2 separate regions of the Homo sapiens genome follow, and region 2 is linked to region 1. The links are contacts of gene promoters, found by promoter capture Hi-C in human tissues and cell types (Jung and others, 2019). All regions are on one chromosome and are shown on one strand. Each heading gives the region's core, a stretch centred on a gene start or on the middle of the fragment in contact. The rest is flanking DNA. Distances are from core to core; before and after follow the strand shown.

What was found. The method cuts DNA at HindIII sites, captures the fragments that hold promoters and counts their contacts. A contact is called where the count stands out against the background at its distance.
Region 2: a fragment that was not itself captured here is called in contact with the fragment with the promoter of ESRP1 in region 1 in 3 of the 25 tissues and cell types used here (H1 embryonic stem cells, mesendoderm cells and thymus).

Annotation. Positions count from the first base shown.
Region 1 is chr8:94,639,586-94,642,596 of GRCh38, forward strand. It overlaps ESRP1 (epithelial splicing regulatory protein 1), which reads left to right and starts at 1,589. Exons shown (of 16, transcript NM_017697.4): 1 at 1,589-1,865; 2 at 2,371-2,499. The coding sequence starts at 1,734. RefSeq lists an enhancer at 2,927-3,011. The HindIII fragment of the contact is 5,400 bases long and covers 271-3,011 here.
Region 2 is chr8:94,676,323-94,679,290 of GRCh38, forward strand. ESRP1 (epithelial splicing regulatory protein 1) reads left to right here. Exons shown (of 16, transcript NM_017697.4): 13 at 1,881-2,049. Among named protein-coding and RNA genes, the nearest start is that of ESRP1, 37 kb to the left of the region's middle. The HindIII fragment of the contact is 4,001 bases long and covers 1-2,968 here.

The sequences.
Region 1 (3,011 bases), core at 339-2,838:
CAGCTTCCCTTGACACGCGTCTTGAAAGGTTACCGGATTTGTACCCGGAGTGGGTTCTGCAGGGATAGGTGCATGGTTGCCCGTTTCACATCATGAATATGAACGGGGCTGGACACCTAGAGCCGAATTATTAATACTTCAGACAGAATTCTGTTCCCAAGAACAAATCGCTTTGAGATATAAAACCCGAGAAAACTTCACCTCTGGCGCTTTTCTCTCTAAAATGTCAACAAGACCCAACAACATACTGCCACCGATCTGGTGGCTGGGGGGTGATGGTTGGGGTACGAGCCTCTGGGCAGACCAAGCTGAGGTGGAGCAGGGAGGTTGTTTGGGAGCTTGGTCAAGTCAACACACTCCAATACAATGCCAAAAGCATGAGCAGAGGGAATGGGGTCAGGGCGCAGAACCTGGGAAAAAGCCTGCGTGGCCCGATTTAAGAAAATTTTTATTAGGCATGCGGATAGATGCTTTTCATTTGGGGCCCAAGGCAAATAAAAGGAAATGGGCCCCAGCTCTGGAGGATGTTCCAGCTTCGAACTAGCAGCCAGGACCAAACCAGACATAGCATTCAGAGTTGACAGAAAAAGAAGCGGGCTCCATTGTGCCTGAGTTTCCTTGCGGGGTCCCCCAGCTGCTTTGCGCGCGATAACTGCGTCCTGGGGAGTGACTAGGTGGTTGGGCGTCCAGCCCCTGGCGTCCGGCTCTGCCGCGCGCGGGGTTCCTCTCCGGAAGGTGGGCAGCGCGGCGGGTTTGGGACGAGCGTGCACCCGGGCTCCGGCCCGGAGAAGGGGGGGCTCGCAGGATTTCTCCTGCTGTTTGCACTGAAAGTTGTGTTGGCTCAGGAGCTGCTTTTCCGGGGATCTGCAGTTGCCCCCGCCACCTCCTGGCTGCGGTTGGCAGGTCCCTCCCTCAGCAGTTCGTCCTCCGCCTGCGCCGCGCCCTGGGCAGCTCCGCGCCCCGGGCCTCACCTCTGGCCTCCTTTCGCCTCCCTGCACCTGGCCTTTTCGCTTGACCGTTCAGAACCTTCGGCTTCGTTCCCTGCAGCCGGTATTCTCCGAGCCCCCCTGCACCTCTCAGTTACCTCCAGTGGGAACCCCTCCCCCCAGCGACTCCGAGCCCTTTACCTCTCTGAGCCCTTTCCCCGTCTGGCCTCGTCTACCCTCTGGGTGTCAACCGCCTCTTCCCTGCCCCTCACGTCTCCCCCTCCTCCTCCCCTGCCCTCGCCTCTCCATTCATCCAGCCATTGTCTCCCGCCCCTTCCTCCCCCTCCCGAAGCGGCCTCCTCCCCCACCGCTGCCACGTCGTGGTTTGAAGGAGCCAATGGGCCGGCGCCGCCAGGTGTCTCTTACCTGCACCACGTGGGGGAGGGGGAAGGGGCGGGCAGGTAAAGCCACATCCCAAAACAGAAAAGCTTTCAGCCATTGCGTGCCTCCCGGGGGGGGCAGCCTTGCTCCAGGCTTTTTGCATAGACGCCCGGGCAACTGAATACAAAAAGGGCAGGCCTCCTGCGCCCTCCTTCCCACCCCCCTTCCTGCCCTGGGCGTGGAGCACCGACCAGGTGTGGGCTTGGGTGGTTGGTTACCGCCTTTTGCACTAGCAGTAGCAAGGAAGGGGGGTGGGCGCTCTTTCTTTTTCTCTTAGAAGAGGGTTTAGCACAGGTTTTTTCGTTCTCACTTCCACACCACCTTACCGCCTCCCGACCCCCCCTCTCCCCCTCCCCACCTATCGTCATGACGGCCTCTCCGGATTACTTGGTGGTGCTTTTTGGGATCACTGCTGGGGCCACCGGGGCCAAGCTAGGCTCGGATGAGAAGGAGTTGATCCTGCTGTTCTGGAAAGTCGTGGATCTGGCCAACAAGAAGGTATTTCTCCACATTTTCGTCTAAATGCAAGGAATGGGGCAAGAAGTTTGTGGTAGAGGTTTGGGCGGGGAGGGGGGTGGAGGTAAGTAAATAAGTGCTCTTGTTTGCCCACTTGTGAGTCTGGACCCGAGGCCTAGGGAAGCTAGAGTAAAACCAAACTTATTGGCCAACTGCCTTGGAGCCATTTCAGTCCTCCGCAACTTAGCTCAGGTGGAGAGGCCGGCGCTACCGAGCCGGGTTCTTTGCCCGTCGGGGGACGCTCCGCCGAGACGAGGTGGGGTCTCGGAGGCCCCGGGGTCCACTTCCAGGGCTTTTCCGACCTATCGGGTGGGGGGTGGGGCGGGGGGCAGGAACGCACCGGAACCGATGGCGAGTCGAGAGCTTTGATTCTGCGTCCGGACCCCAAGAGAGGCGCGGGCCGCCCCAGCAGGGGAGCGAGGGAGGAGGGTGCAGAAAGAGGCTCCGAAATTGGGGGAAACTGACCCGTGCTTCTCTACCTTCGGAGGTGGGACAGTTGCACGAAGTGCTAGTTAGACCGGATCAGTTGGAACTGACGGAGGACTGCAAAGAAGAAACTAAAATAGACGTCGAAAGCCTGTCCTCGGCGTCGCAGCTGGACCAAGCCCTCCGACAGGTGACAACCCCGGGTCACGCCACCCACCCCAGCCTGGGCCCAACCCCACCGCACCCTACGCCCTCTCAGGGCGGCCCACGCGTGTTCCCGGAGCAGGGTGGCGAGACGCCTGCCCGGCCGCGTGGGTGGGAGCCCAGCCTGAGGGCCGGGGCGCACCGTTTGGGCGGGGGTCGCTGCTTCTCTTCATCTCCCAGCCCCCAGGGTTTGGGACCGACATTCACTAGTTTTCGAGTTGCTTCCTGAGTAGTTACTGGAGCCGGAGAGTCAGCTCCATTTTGCCAATTGATTGACGTGCGGAGTTTGAATCCTAGCGCCCCCATCTCCAGGTCCAGACCCCAGACGCGCCGCTCCCCTGCGGGGTTTGGGCCCACAGCCTTCGGGCAGGGGGCGCTGTGGCGTAGACGTGCAGGTGGGCCCGGCGGGTGTGCAAGAAGTAGCACTGTGGGTTGGAACCTGAAGGTGCCTGCCTGGTTTCAGGCTTCTGAACTCCCAACGAAAGGCTCGGTCCGTCA
Region 2 (2,968 bases), core at 464-2,963, 37 kb after region 1:
GCCTGGGCGACAGTGAGACTCAGTCTCAAAAAAAAAAAAAAAAGCTATCCTTTTGTTTGAGGAATGCCCAAAACATTGCAGCCCAATCTATTTGGTTATCGAAAATTTCTACCTTTGTTTTGAAGCTGAACAGACTTACACCTACTATGTGTGTGTGTTTATGCATGTGTGGTTTTTTTTTGTTTTGTTTTGTTTTGAGACGGAGTCTTGCTTTTCTGCCAGGCTGGCATGCAGTGGCTCAGTCTTGGCTCGCTGCAACCTCTGACTCCCAGGTTGAAGTGATTCTCCTGCCTCAACCTCCTGAGTAGCTGGGACTACAGGAGTGTGCCACCATGCCCAGCTAATTTTTTGTATTTTAGTAGAGATGGGGTCTCACCATGTTGGCCAGGATGGTCTGGATCTCCTGCCCTTGTGATCTGCCCGCTTCGGCCTCCCAAAGTGCTGAGATTACAGGCGTGAGCCACCACACCCAGCCATGTGTGTTTGTCTTATTGGTGTGAGGCACTGTCCTGTAATGAACCGCTTGATAGTTTTGAAATCAGAATATGAACCGGGCGCGGTGGCTTACGCCTGTAATCCCAGCACTTTGGGAGGCCAAGGCGGGCAGATCACCCGAAGTCAGGAGTTCGAGACCAGCCTGACCAACATGGCGAAACCCTGTTTCTACTAAAAAAAAATTCAAGAAATCAGAATATGAGCACAGGCTGTATAACTTTCTGTGAGACTTAGGTGCCTCAATTTGTATTGTTGGTCTTTTGCACAGTTTTTGATGAGTATGAAAGAGGCACTCAAGTTAAATATGAGATCAATATGTTAGTCTTTTTTCTATACGCCCATATTTAGCTTGCTGTCTTATTCATCTCCATGGAAATGTAGAAACTCATAAGAACAAAAGACAATTTGAAGTCAGCTTGGAGATTTTTATGGGAAAAAGTTATTTCTTGGGCCTCTGCTGATTGCAAAATGTGGTGGTTCTAGGTATGAAGCTTAAAGTCAGGGACCCCATATTCATTCAGCATCTCAACTTAACTCTTCTATTGGGTATAAATGGCCCGGATAGTTGTGTTCATTCCACAAGTGAAAGCTAGTGACCAGCCACTGGTCTTCTGTTTCTAAACCTAGAAGATGTTTGATAACCAGAAGACAATGCAGTTGGGGCCCATTTTTTAATTTAATCTGAGCCAGCTTTTTATTAGTTGATTCCCAGGAAGACTTAGGCATCAATTCCTTTGGGACTATTTCCCAGGTTGGATTTTTTTCTTTTTAAAGGTCTGAAGATATAAATTAGCTTCAAAGCCCATCATGTGGCTAGCCTTTAGGTGAGAATAATGCAGAATTGATCTGCTTGTTTCTTTTAGGTCAGTTCCTTCTGGCACAGTCTATGCTTTGACCTAATATGTGGTAGTGGCCAAGAGAGGTTTATCATAACACTTCTCATTTGATGCTGTACTGACGGGTAGGTAGCAAGAGGGAGTAGAAGCATAACTTAAAATTTAAAATATTTAGTAGCCTCTAGTATGAAACTTAAACATCAGTTCCTTGTTTCTTTCCTCTGAGAGTTGGTTTGTAGTAACTGGCACTCAGGAACATGAGGGAAAAAAATTACATATTGTGAAATGGTTGAGAAGACATGAAAATCCACTTGATTTTGGTGTTTCCGAATTTCAGGCAAAGAACTGTTTTTTAGGTTGACAGGGTGGAATTCAGATACTTCTATGCATTAACTGTATAATCAAAAGGAAATTGCTTGGGATAGGATAAAGAACTGTGGTCTCTTTCTTTAAAATGTGTAGATGGAACAGTGACTATGTTTTTAGTGCTAGCACGTGCATGTCAGCTGTTACAAATATGTCTCAAAGAATCTCTCTTTGCATATCTAGGCCTGTCTCCTCCCTCCTACACATTTCCAGCTCCTGCTGCAGTTATTCCTACAGAAGCTGCCATTTACCAGCCCTCTGTGATTTTGAATCCACGAGCACTGCAGCCCTCCACAGCGTACTACCCAGCAGGCACTCAGCTCTTCATGAATTACACAGCGTACTATCCCAGGTAAGGCTCTGACAGAGGTGGAAATGAGGGGCAGAAACAAAGGACTCCTTTGATAGCCAGTGCAAGAGCTCACAAAAGAATATTGTCTGCCATGTTGAAGGTTAGCGTGGCAGGCCACAGCCTCTGGTCATATCTCTGACCAAGAAGGTTGTTTCAAGACAAAGCAAAAGCAGTATAGTTTTTAACCATATACTGACAGCATGATCTTTTAGGTCACCTATGTCTACAGCTTTCCTTTTTTACCTCTCCTGTCATAGGACCCCAAGTGAGTAGTGATGTGATCACTGCAATAGGATGGCAATATCAGATGAATGAATCATAAAACAGGAAAATTCATAACAGGAACAATGCTATTTTGAAGTAGTATGAGTTCATGTTATGGCACAGTGAATAAAAACTGTTGCTTTAAATATTCCAGGGCTTATATTCTTTTCCTCCTAAATCTTTAAACAAATCTATAAACCAATCCAGAATTAGATTATTTAGTGTTTTCTTAGAGTCTATATATTTTAAGTCTGTCTTTTTAGTTGTGTTCAATTTCTCGGACATAGCATACTAGCATATAATGGAGAGAATGTTGTCAGTCTGGGAGTTGGGAGACTGAATGTTAGTTTCTTTCCAAGCTATTTAGAAGAAATATTTGGAGTACATGCACGAGCATGTAAATGAGGCTTATAATAAGTGTCTTGGACCTAACCTGTCTGATCCTACAGCTATGTTGCATTGTATTTTTCTTCCCTGTCCAATACAGAATTTTCCACTAAGGAGTAAGAGTTAGGGGTCTCATAATAACAGGCAAGTTTGTAGCCACTTTTAATTATGTTTTTTATTTTGTTAGAAGTTTTTAAAACATTAATGCTATTGAAAATATTTTTTATTCCACTGGAGAAGAAAAATAAGAAAAAGGCTATGACAGTTG